4 separate regions of the Homo sapiens genome follow, and all the other regions are linked to region 3. The links are contacts of gene promoters, found by promoter capture Hi-C in blood cells and fetal thymus (Javierre and others, 2016). All regions are on one chromosome and are shown on one strand. The core of a region is centred on a gene start or on the middle of the fragment in contact, and the rest is flanking DNA. Distances in the headings are between cores, read along the strand shown.

Evidence for each region. The method cuts DNA at HindIII sites, captures the fragments that hold promoters and counts their contacts. A CHiCAGO score of 5 or more calls a contact.
Region 1: a fragment that was not itself captured here is called in contact with the fragment with the promoter of THAP1 in region 3 in 6 of 17 cell types (naive CD8 T cells, activated CD4 T cells, naive CD4 T cells and 3 more); the score reaches 8.5 in naive CD8 T cells.
Region 2: a contact is called between a fragment that was not itself captured here and the fragment with the promoter of THAP1 in region 3, in 1 of 17 cell types (non-activated CD4 T cells). The highest score is 6.5, in non-activated CD4 T cells.
Region 4: the fragment with the promoter of GPAT4 here is called in contact with the fragment with the promoter of THAP1 in region 3 in 9 of 17 cell types (non-activated CD4 T cells, fetal thymus, total CD8 T cells and 6 more); the score reaches 13.4 in non-activated CD4 T cells.

Annotation. Positions count from the first base shown.
Region 1 is chr8:41,828,585-41,831,455 of GRCh38, forward strand. It overlaps a transcript of ANK1 not described here. Among named protein-coding and RNA genes, the nearest start is that of ANK1, 32 kb to the left of the region's middle. RefSeq lists an enhancer at 1-301. The HindIII fragment of the contact is 1,406 bases long and covers 615-2,020 here.
Region 2 is chr8:41,512,534-41,515,413 of GRCh38, forward strand. It overlaps the pseudogene KRT18P37. Among named protein-coding and RNA genes, the nearest start is that of GINS4, 15 kb to the right of the region's middle. The HindIII fragment of the contact is 848 bases long and covers 919-1,766 here.
Region 3 is chr8:42,841,843-42,844,609 of GRCh38, forward strand. It overlaps THAP1 (THAP domain containing 1), which reads right to left and starts at 1,483. Exons shown (of 3, transcript NM_018105.3): 1 at 1,182-1,483. The coding sequence starts at 1,252. It overlaps LOC124901940 (a long non-coding RNA gene), which reads left to right and starts at 1,092. Exons shown (of 2, transcript XR_007060901.1): 1 at 1,092-1,541; 2 at 1,925-2,767. RefSeq lists enhancers at 1,076-1,866, 1,202-1,561 and a silencer at 1,082-1,171. The HindIII fragment of the contact is 1,565 bases long and covers 678-2,242 here.
Region 4 is chr8:41,576,820-41,579,792 of GRCh38, forward strand. It overlaps GPAT4 (glycerol-3-phosphate acyltransferase 4), which reads left to right and starts at 1,381. Exons shown (of 13, transcript NM_178819.4): 1 at 1,381-1,459. It overlaps GPAT4-AS1 (GPAT4 and GINS4 antisense RNA 1), which reads right to left and starts at 1,549. Exons shown (of 3, transcript NR_125824.1): 1 at 1,487-1,549. RefSeq lists silencers at 1,108-1,727, 1,748-1,887. The HindIII fragment of the contact is 4,489 bases long and covers 660-2,973 here.

The sequences.
Region 1 (2,871 bases), core at 68-2,567, 1.0 Mb before region 3:
TCCCATACCGAGGCCTCTTCAGTTCCTGGAACAGTAGCACTAAAAGGCTCCTGAGTGCCTCTGTTAATTTGATTGTTCTGGTTCGCACTACAATGACCGGGCTGGAGAGGGGGCGCTCGTAATGAAACAGGAACTGCTCCTCGCGCCCGCTCCAGAGTCCTTTACATCTTTGGGGAGAGGGCATACGGGGAGCTACATTTCATTTTCCTGAAGATTTTCCACGCGAAAGTGCTGGGGAGAGAGTTGGGCCTGGGAGGCTGCGCCTTCTTCCCGCGAATCCCGAAAACTGCGCGGCAAAGGCGGGTTCCGCAGAAGTCGCGCGTGACCCGGGGCGCCGCCCTCCTCGGGGCCCATTCGGATCTGCCGCCCGTCCTCTCCAGAGCGCCCCCTGGCGCCCTCTAGGCCATCTTGATTCCACCGCCGCAGTTGAAAGAATTAATAAATAAATCCTAGTCTCGCGTCTAGACCGGTCCGTGAGGGTCCCCTGCTCACCGGACACCCTGCCGCAATCTCTGCTGTCCCATTCTGGCCTCCCTACGGGGACGGGGGCCACCGTTTGCACATCAGCGGCGTTTGGGACAGCACTGTGCAAGATCTGTGACTCGGCTTTCAGAAGCTTCTGCCACAAGGCTTCAAAGGAAACCTTCAATTTTCACATTTCCTAGGGGGAAAAAAAATCTGAGATTTCTTCTTGTGGCTTGATGAACTTAGCTTTCGTCGCTGGAACAAAACCCGAGGAACAGCGTCTTCGCCACCCTTGCCACCTTACTGATGTTTCTCAGGGGGCACATGCCCATCGCAACCTTATGACCAATCCCATTTTTCAGATGCAGAAAGAGGCTCAGAGAGGTTAAGTGCTACTTGCTCAAGGCCACAGCAGGGAGTGGAGCTGGATTCGCTCCCAGGCAACTGACCCCAGCGTGCAGTCGATGCCTTCTCCTAGTCCCACTCACCGTGTAAGACCTGGTATTTACAAATTAGATTCTCGTTGTGCTTCTCCATTGGAAGGGCACTAGGGGAGCTCATTGTCTAAGACTGCCATCCCTAACTGCCTTTTAAAAAGAAATCTGGGCCGGGCGCAGTGGTTCATGCCTGTAATCCCAGCACTTTGGGAGGCCGAGGCAGGCAGATCACGAGGTCAAGAGATCGAGACCGTCCTGGCTAACACGGTGAAACCCCGTCTCTACTAAAAATACAAAAAATTAGCCGGGCGTGGTGGCGGGCGCCTGTAGTCCCAGCTACTTGGGAGGCTGAGGCAGGAGAATGGCTTGAACCCAGGAGGCTGAACTTGCAGTGAGCCGAGATCGCCCCACTGCACTCCAGCCTGGGCGACAGAGCGAGACTCTGTCTCAAAAAAAAAAAAAAAAAAAAAAATCTGACGTGACAAGGCCTTTAGTTTTTATAAGTGAGGTCTCCTCTCTTTGCCTAGATATTCCTCCGATAACATCAATGAAATTTTGCCCAGCACAGAGCAAGTACTAAATAATGATTTGGTGAATCTAATGTTGAGCCTGCAGTAATCCAACTAGAAACACCCACTCAGCCACTCGGGCATACCTTTTATTTGGGCAAGGGGCACTGCAGTTCTCTGGGCAGGGGTCAGCTAGGAGAGACCAATAGATGCCCCCACCCCAGGCTCCTAGACCCATCTCCAGGACCAAACAGCCAAAGCCCCTCTTCTTTTCTTCAAAATACACACATTTCTAGAAATTCTCTGCAAAATACATAGGCTACTAGATAAGCACCCAGTTTCCCTCTGGGGTCATTTGTTCCCGAATGAGGCTTATTAAAAGAGGAAACTATTTTTAAGCTAAATCATCAATCAAAAGTATTCTTCATTCTGGTATATGGCTGCTTTCCACAGATGATAAAATCCCGTCAACTTGATCCAAAGAAAAAATGACCTACATAACAATGACAGCATGAATAACAATTAATCCTCCATTGAAATGTTCAAAAGCTAGAATTGTGGTAAAGCCAAGATTCCCAGGGAGTGTCAGGAACTGCTCTCTTGATTCTAAGCTTGAAGCAGGTAAAGAAAAGGTTGTCTGGGACTAGGGCTTTCGGGGATAGGACCCAAATCCCAAGGCAAAGGGAGTCAGAAGCGAGTAAGAAAAGCAAACAGCTCCTACCTACCCAGTGCCAAAGAAACGCAGACACCAGTTCTGTGTCGGTTCTGCTTGAAAAGGTCTGAGAAGAATAATTTGGTAGATGAATCATTGAAGAATAATTTTGCAGACAGCTCCATCAAGCCAAATGCCCAGCGTGAGGGCTGTGTGTATAATACTGTCATAACCTTTGAAGATAGATTCTGTTCATCAACACGGCTGTTTACATAATCACTTGGTCACCTCACCAAATGGATTAATCTTTTTGGTCACATTCCTTATCAGTGCATGGAGAGGCTAATTGTTGGTGGCCCAATGTGTCCCATAAACGGATCCCATGAGAATAAGCTTGCAGCAACAGATGATGAAGGGAACTGAGATACAGACGAAAGCACAGCGGCCTGGGAGACAGGAGACGAGGCTCCGCCTGGACCTTGACGACGACCTTCCTTAAAACTATGGACTCGTCATCTGACCTCTCAAGGCCTCCATTTCCCCATCTGTAAAACCGAAAGCCCCTCAGCAATCTGGGGCTATCATCTGAAAAGTGTGGGCAGCTGCGGGCGCTCATACCTCAAGCCCCAAGAGTTTCTTCTTCTAACAGTAACATACTTTGCACATGACCCAGCAATCCCACTCCTGGGTATTTACCTGATAAATGAAAACCCATGTTTGCCGGGCATGGTGGCTCATGCATGTAATCCCAGCACTTTGGGAGGCCAAGGTGGGCGGATCACTTGAAGTCAAAAGTTCAAGACCAGCC
Region 2 (2,880 bases), core at 93-2,592, 1.3 Mb before region 3:
AAGCAGGGTACCCTGTGGGGAGTAAGAGGCCAATAAAAAGTTCAGAGGTCAAAAAAACATCAAGGAATAGTCCATGGTAATTAAAAAATGTATATTTTTTTTGAGATGGAGTTTTGCTTTTTGCCCAGGCTGGAGTGCAATGGCACCATCTCGGCTCACTGCAAACTCCGCCTCCCGGATTCAAGTGATTCTCCTTCCTCAGCCTCCCGAGTAGCTGAGATTACAGGCGCCCGCCACCATGCCCAGCTAATTTTTTTATTTTTAGTAGAGACAGGGTTTCACCATGTGGGCCAGGCTGGTCTCAAACTCCTGACCTCAGGTGATCTGCCTGCCTCAGCCTCCCAAAGTGCTGGGATTACAGGTGTGAGCCACCACACCCAGCCTAAAAAACATATTTAAAGAAATAAGACATTGGCATGTTTCATTAGGAAAAAGGCATCACAGTTATTGTTACTATCTTGGATCACCTGATGACTCAGTGTAGTTTTATTATTTTTTTTTCTGGGTACATAGGTGTCTATATTCACGGTGTACATGAGATGTTTTGATACAGGCATGCAATGCGTAATAATTACAGTATGTCAAATGGGCTACTCATCCCCCTCAAGCACTGTGTTACAAACAATCCAAATACAGATTCCATTTTTTGTTTTTGTTTTTGAGATGGAGTTTCGCTCTTGTCACCCAGGCTGGAGTGCAGTGGTGCAATTTTTAGTAGAGACAGGGTTTCGCCATATTGGCCAGGCTGGTCTAGAACTCCTGAACTCAGGTGATCCAACAGCCTCAGCCTCACAAAGTGCTGGGATTACAGGCGTGAGCCACCGCACCCGACCCAGACTCCATTTCTTTTAAATAAGGTAGATTTGTAGAAAATTAACAACTTAGAAGTTACAGTCCATAGTCCAACTTTCTTTTGTAAGCTTATTTTCCTATATAAAATGTTCAATGTCTCTCCTTATCCAGTGAAACTCATAGTAAATAATACTTATATAGCCAGGAGACAAAAAAGAGGTCATAACACCTCAATTAAATTTCTTCTGTATTCCACTTAGCCCTGGCTCCTAGCATAAGTTAAAGCTACAGTTTCCCAGGAGTAACATGCTTTGTTTTTTGTTATTTGTTTTAATGTCAAAGGAAATCAGAGTACTGGTGCCATATCTGATTTATGTACTTACCTCCTCTCCCCTTCACCAGCTTCTTTCCCCCTCCAAACAAAGGAGATTGTACATTCCATGAGGGCAGAGGTGGTTTCCTACTTACCCTTGCATCCACCTCACACTCCATGCATCCTCATACACAGTGCTACAGATACTTAGCTCTCACATGTTTGTAAAGTGCATAAATGAATGAGAGGTAAGTTGACCCATCAGGTCATTAACATCAGAATAGAATTACGGTGCTACACCTGGATTGGTGCGGCGTTTGTCTGGCTTTTGATAGGCAGTGATTTGTGTGCTCCCTTGGTAAAGTCTTCTAAAACTGGGAGGAGATATCTGTGGCTTAAGCTCCAATAGAGTGGACTTTTGCCTGGAGATAAGTACCCTTGAGGATCCCAATGCCCTTTAATTCTAGATTAGGAATTCCCAGGGAAAGGAAAGGAATTGCATCGAAACCTCTGAGTTGGGTAAAGTAAATAATAAATAAGCCTCCTGCTCATACTTTGTCCTGTATTATTCTCTATGTAACATTAAATCCAGCTATGATTGAAACTGCAAAACTTAGAAGTCTATTTCTCCTTAATTCTTTTAACTTAGTCTTCTGATAAAAGCTTATTTTCAGATAATTTCCACTTTTCAAAATTCTCTAAGGACCTAATAAAGCACAAACAATACTTTGTACTCATTTGAGTTCTTGCTACTGAATTTCTCTATGTAAAATCAAAGTTACAAGAACAATATGAAAAAAGGTGCTTGTCACTCATTAGATAAAATGAATCAAGCACGCTTGTAGTCTAACATCACCAGAGACTACTCTGTAGTGCAAACACTAACTGAAACAGGCCAGAGTCATCCCTGTCCTCATGTGTGCTTGCTGGAAGGATAAACATCGATGACTGTAACCATTACACAGTGACCAGCTTTAATGTGCAAGGGTGTCAGTGTGAATGATTTTATTCTACCCCACCCCCAAGAGCTGGAATAAATGGCTTTATGATGGTACTCTCCAGTACTGTACTCAAAACTTGGAAATGTGTAGAGAACGGCAAACATCTGATTAACATCCCATTTGCTGTGGATTGTTGGGAATGTCAAAATGGGGATTGTGGACCACCTACGTGCTAGGATTGTTAGGGGTACAGCAATACATGTATTTTGCTCCAAAATGAGTAGGCACAGAATTACAGAACCAAAATAAAGATCTTGGCTCTTCTGAATTATATCCTAAGTTCTTCCCATATATGTACCTCAAATGCTGCAGATACGAAGTTCTGTGAAATTCTGCCTACAACCAGGAAGCCCTATGGGAACTTAACGCCTACTCTTTACATTTTTAAGCCTCCATTTTGCAAAAAAAAAAAAAAAAAAAAAAAAAGTTTTTATGAGTTAGGCACTACCAAAGATCTTTGGTTAAGGGTTATTGTCAAGTGAAAACAAGTTTATGCTAGCAGGATGTTGTGGGTTTTTAAAAAAATAGTATCTGAGCAATAAAAGGATTTATTGACTTAGTAACTTATCTAACTTTGTGCTGTCACATTTTACTTTGCTAGTGAAATCTTTAATCTTCAGATTTATAAACTATCTTTGAAGAAATATTTCGTTTCACCTACAAAGAGTTCTTTAAAAAAAAAAAGCAGGAGACCTAAAAATCCACCTATTAGCTGCCATATCTGTTGTTCTTGATCTTTCTGTTTCTGTTCATGTATATATCCTCTTACCTCAT
Region 3 (2,767 bases), core at 233-2,732:
TCCAAGGGGTAACATTATTACTCTGGAGACCTCTCTATGTTCTACACACTCTTATTTCTATAGGGTCCATCTCACATGATATCAAACATATTTAAAAAATGCATGGACACTCCCCTAGTAAACACAGATGGCCCCACAGCAAAAAAATAAATTAACTGAAAAGATATTTAACATTTTGCTTTTGTAATTATTTACCTAATTATAAAAGATAATTAGCTAATTACCTATGGCTAATCTGTATAGTTTACCCCTGGATCTGATTTCTTACCTATCATCTGCGTATAGCTGTCAGGAATTCTTGCAAAGAAAACTTAACATAAATGTAATTAAAATTTGTAAACAAATTCAGCTGAATGAAAATGTTATGTCACATTTTACAAGCGTTTATCATAAGTAATTACAACTCTGCACTTTTTTCCTATTTTCAAGAGAATATTTTTGATCCTATCACTTAACTGTGCTACCTACTGGATAAGACAGCTCTGAAAGCTGTGGGGCAGTTTCTTTCGAAAGAGCTTTCTCTATGCACAGGTAATGCCATAATAAATAAAGATCCGTGTGAGTCATTTTATTATGATCCATGTTGTAACTGTCCATATTATCATTATTGTGTGCTGAAAAGATAACGATTTATCTCGGCAGTACCTGAAGCTTTCTCCAAAATACAGGGTCCTTAAAGCTTAGTTCCTAGAGATTGGGGGCAAAAATTCTCCCTGATTTCCCAGCCAAAAAACCCTTAATTGCTACGATGCTGGCCTCCCATCCACGGCAAGGGCGAAAAGTAGTGATTTCTTCGTTTAAAGGCCTTTGTTTCTATTTTAAATTTACCCCTAAGACCATATTAAAACACCTGGCTGCTCTGTGACCCTGGTGGTGGCAAAACCCGCGCCACCCTAGGCATCGCCCGTGGGCTCCGAACGCGTCAACCCAGGCCGTGAGCGAAGCCTGCAACCAGGGCCTGTTCCAGGAGCGCGAGAAACGGCTGCCGCGGCGACGCGCGCCGAGAACGCGCGATCGGGCGGCGGTTCCCAGCGGGACGCGGTGGGAAACGCCCGACACGGCCGGCCCCAGACCCCACCCGCCCCTCGCGCGGACACGCGCCTGGCTCCGCCCCCGGCCCCGCCGGCCGCGCGCCCCCACCCCGGCTGAGACCGGCCCCGCGAGGCGCGCAGGGTCCTCACTTGTGGAAAGAAACGGGCTTGTCCTTGTCGTAGCGGTTCTTGCAGCCGTAGGCGGAGCAGGACTGCACCATCCTTCCGGTCCTCAGGCACTTCACTTCTGCCGCCGCAGAAGGCAGGGGAAGCTGTTCTCAGTGTCGCTGCGCTCGGTTGGATTCCCTCGCTTCTTTTGTAGCTTTGGCCAACAGTTACAGTGATGGTGGCCTCCCTCGGGGGTGACTAGTGTGCCCGTTTTGTTGTTTGCATTAGCAGAAGGACCACAGCCATCGCCCGTCTCCCATCTCCAAGATGGCGGAGGCAGCTTCAACCTCACCTCTCGCGAGGGGTGCGTCCCACTGTCTCTGATTAGCCCCGAGGTCAGAGGTAACGTTTCCTGGGAAGCTAACTATTGGCTGAGGCCAGGTGTTTCCGGCGGTGGCTTCAGAGTTGCCGAAGTGGGCGGAGCCCTGAGCTTCCGGCAGGCAGGAAGGAACTGCTTGTGGGGGGAGGAGGCGCGGCGGGAGGCCGGATTCCTGGGGCATCCTCCAGCCCCGGGCTGTTCCCGTGGGTTAATTGATGCGGACCTTTTCTGGGGCAGCTTACAGTAGGGAACAACTAGGGCCTCTTGGAGAACAGGTGTAAAGCCGAGGTCGTTGGCTGATTGCGCCCATTTCTTTAAAAGGGCGGACACAGATGGTGTATGATTAATAAAATTGTGGAACCTTTTCCCAGAGTGCTAATCTTTATCCCATTACCTGTGTCTTCAGGTATCACAAGTTTCTGTGAGAGCCAACGTGACAGATTTTTAGCAATGAAAAAAGACACACTCGCCAAATCATCTCAATTGCCAACGCAGAAGCGTTTTATATATATGTATGTATATGTATGTATATATGTGTGTATGTATATATGTGTGTGTGTATGTATATATATATATATATATGTAATTTTTTAAATAAATAGAGGCGTTGTCTCCCCACGTTGCCCAGGTCAGTCTGGAACTCGAGCTCAAGGGATCCTCCCATCTCGACCTCCCCATGGGTTGGGATTACAGGAGTTGAGCCACCAGGCTGTCCCTCCCCAGAAGCTTTTCTGAAGGCTCTCCATTGCTGTGATTTCCATGTGCTGTGTTGCAAATAGCGAACTGCTGCAGCAATTTTCACACCTGAGAGAGAATATGTTAGAGGGGTTCGAACTAGAGCGACTCTGTGTTGAGTGAGGGCTAGGAAAATGAGGCTGGGACTTGCTGGGCTGCATTCCCGGGAAGTTAGGTATTCCTAGCCTCTAGATGTGTATACCATTAAGGCAACAGATTGATAATGTTTACTACACAGACCCAGACTACCAAGTGTCCAGATATCCCGATATTTTGAGAACAGAAGCATTCCTAATTTTGCTTTAAAGATAATAATATTGGGCTGGGCACAGTGCCTCACGCCTGTAATCCCAGCACTTTGGAAGGCCGAGGCGGGCGGATCACTTGAGGTCAGGAGTTCAAGACTAGCCTGGTCAACATGGTGAAAACGTCTCTACTAAAAATACAAAAATTAACCGGGTGTGGTGGCACATGCCCTCGAATTTCAGCTACTCTGGAGGCTGAGGCAGGATAA
Region 4 (2,973 bases), core at 131-2,630, 1.3 Mb before region 3:
TTTTTTTTTGAGTTTGGGTCTCGCTCTGTCACACAGGCTGGAGTATAGTGCCACAATCTCAGTTCACTGCAACATCTGCCTCCTGGGTTCATGCAATTCTCCTGTCTCAGCCTCCCGAGTAGCTGGGATTACAGGTGCGTGCCATCACCCCCGGCTAAATTTTGTATTTTTAGTAGAGACGGGGTTTCACCATGTTGGCCAGGCTGGTCTCAAACTCCTGGCCTTAAGTGATCTGTCCGCCTCTGCCTCCCAAAGTGCTGGGATTACAGGCGTGAGCTACCCGCGCCCCGCTCCCCCCACCATTTTTTTTTAATTTTCAAAATTTTTGTAGAAGTGGGGGTCTCGTTACGTTGCCCCGGCTAGTCTCAAACTCCTGGCCTCAAGCGATCCTCCTGCTTTGGCCTCCCAAAACGCTGGGATTACTGGCGTGAACTACCATACTCTGCCCTTTATTCTTACAGAGATTTTGAGGTCTAAGAATGTGGACTTTAAAGATTTCATTATCAGATTATGCATTTAGCACGGAATGACAATCTGACAGCCGTGTACAGCGTAAACCGGCGGAGAGGGCTTGGCACTAAAGGCAAACTGTCTTTTAAGAACAGGAAAAAGAAAGGTAATATATATTTTAAGGAGGTCCCATTTTAGGGGAGATAATAAGCTTGGGTTAGGCGTCCGAAGTCAGAAGATATAGTAAGAAACACACACGCAAACTCCAGCAGCCACCAGCTAGACTTGAGTAGAGAGAGCAGGTCCAAGTGGAGGTGGAAGTTGGAAAGTTGCATCTGCCAGGCAGGGCGAAAGTGGCCTACACCCACTCCTGGAGCACCCTGCTTGACGAGCAAGGTAGACGAGGCTGAGGGATACTGCTGGTGATGACGGTGGTCGTGGTGATGGTGCTGGTAGCTAACAGATCTTGAGCGTACCAGGCCCTGAGCTGAGTCCTCTAACGGGCAGAATGTCGCTGCATACGGACAGCAGCCTCAAGAGGACAAGGTGATTTAGTGACTCTAGCCTCTTCCCGCGGTGCCAGCCTGATTTCACCCTCTCCGGAACACACAAGCGAACCTCCGGGGAGGGAGCCAGTATCGGGTCCTAACGCAGGGAAGCGCTCCGCTTTCTGAGAGGGACGCGCCAGCGGAGGGACAGCCAGGGCCCGGCCTCTCCTGCTCCTGCCCCGCCCCGCCCCCGGCAGTGCCCCCTAGTCCGCCAGAGGGCGACTCCGCGGGTCGCCCAACCCGCGACCGGTCCACGCGGCACCCGCCTCTCCCTAGGCCCCCGCCCTGCCGGCCCGCGCGCGCCCGACGGGAGCGTGCGGGGCGGTGGGCGCAGGGTCACGTTGGGCGGCGCAGACAAAGGCGGGCGCGCGCACGTCCTGACGCAGCTTGGGCCCGCGGCGGCGGCAAGGGCGGGAGGGAGCGGTCGCCGCGGGATTTGGAGCTGCCTAGCCTCGCGGTCGGTGAGTAGGAGGGAGCTGGCCCCTTACCTCAAAGTCTCCGACCTCCGGGGAGCCGAGAGCGGGACGTGGGAGCCGGGCTTGGGCGGCCGCGCGGGGCCTGCGGTCTGGGACGCCCCGGCGACGCTGCGCCGGCGTCAGGAGGCACCATCGCCGCGCCCCGGGGATCCCCGGCGGGTGGAGCGGGTGCCCCCCGTCCGGGATGGAACGGTCCGCGCCCGCCCCGAACCCCGGCCGCCCGCCTCTCCGCTCGCCTGCTCTCCGAGCCCGGCTCCTCGGAGCCCCTCGCCTCCCCCAAGTCCCAGGTGTGCGCAGCCCTCCCGCCCCGGGAGTCCGGGGATGTGGGTGGCGAGGGCTGCTGGGCGTTGGAGCACCAGGAAGCGCCTTCCCCTGTCATTCCCCTTCCTGTGTTCTCTGGCTGCCGTAAGATGCATGTCTTTACCCTCTCCTTCTCCAAATGCATGCTCCCATTTTTCTTTAGGATTTCTTAACTCCTGAAATCCCTTGCCTTTCCTTTTTTATTTCAGCACCCTCTGAGGCATCCTTCTCCCAGTGGGGCTTGTTTATTTCCTCGCTTTCCATGTCACAGAGGGCTGAAGTTTAGCTGTTCAGAAGTTGCAGAAAATAGCTTATAGGAGACATACGGTGTAGCACGATGGAAATAAGTTCCATCCTCTGCCAAGTATTACCATGGATCTTCTCATGGATAACCTTGAGGTCATTTGAGGAATTTTGTTTTTGGTTCATTTTCCTTAATTTTGGCTGAACTTTGAGGAGCTCTCCTTAGTTTCATGTCTTGTAGATTCTATCTCAATCCAAGGGAAATGGTGTGAAGAGCAGTTATACCATACCAAAGTCTCCAGACAAAATCCTGTAATAATGCCAATCAAATATACTTCTCTCTTTGAAAGAGATGTGCTTTTCTTTTCTTTTTTAACTTTGTATTTTGGAGAATTTCAGACACAGGGAAATAGATGGAATAGGGAACCAGCATGTACTTGTTCTGGCCTCCTCAGCCACTTAACTGTGGCTATTCCTGTGCCATACACACCCCACCCATTTCCCCTCCCGTATGTCTCAGGGAGAACTTGATGCAAGATGAGTCTGTCAAAAGTAGCTTCAGTTCCATAATGAAAACCACCATACCAAGTCATAAGGTGCTTTTTGTTTTGGAACACAGCCTACTCATGAGGTCTTCAGCTAAGAAACACAGTAGAGTTGAAGAAAGAGCACAGCAAAAGGTATCTTAACATGATAGAACAGGTTAAAAGAAAAAGTATGGCCGGGCGTGGTGACTCACGCCGGTAATCCCAGCACTTTGGGAGGCCGAGGCGGGCGGATCACCTAAAGTCAGGAGTTCAAGACCAGCCTGGCCAACATGGTGAAACCCTGCATATACTAAAAATACAAAAATTAGCCGGACGTGGTGGCAAGTACTTGTATTCCCAGCTACTCGGGAGGCTGAGGCCGGAGAATCGCTTGAACCCAGGAGGCAGAGGTTGCAGTGAGCCAAGATT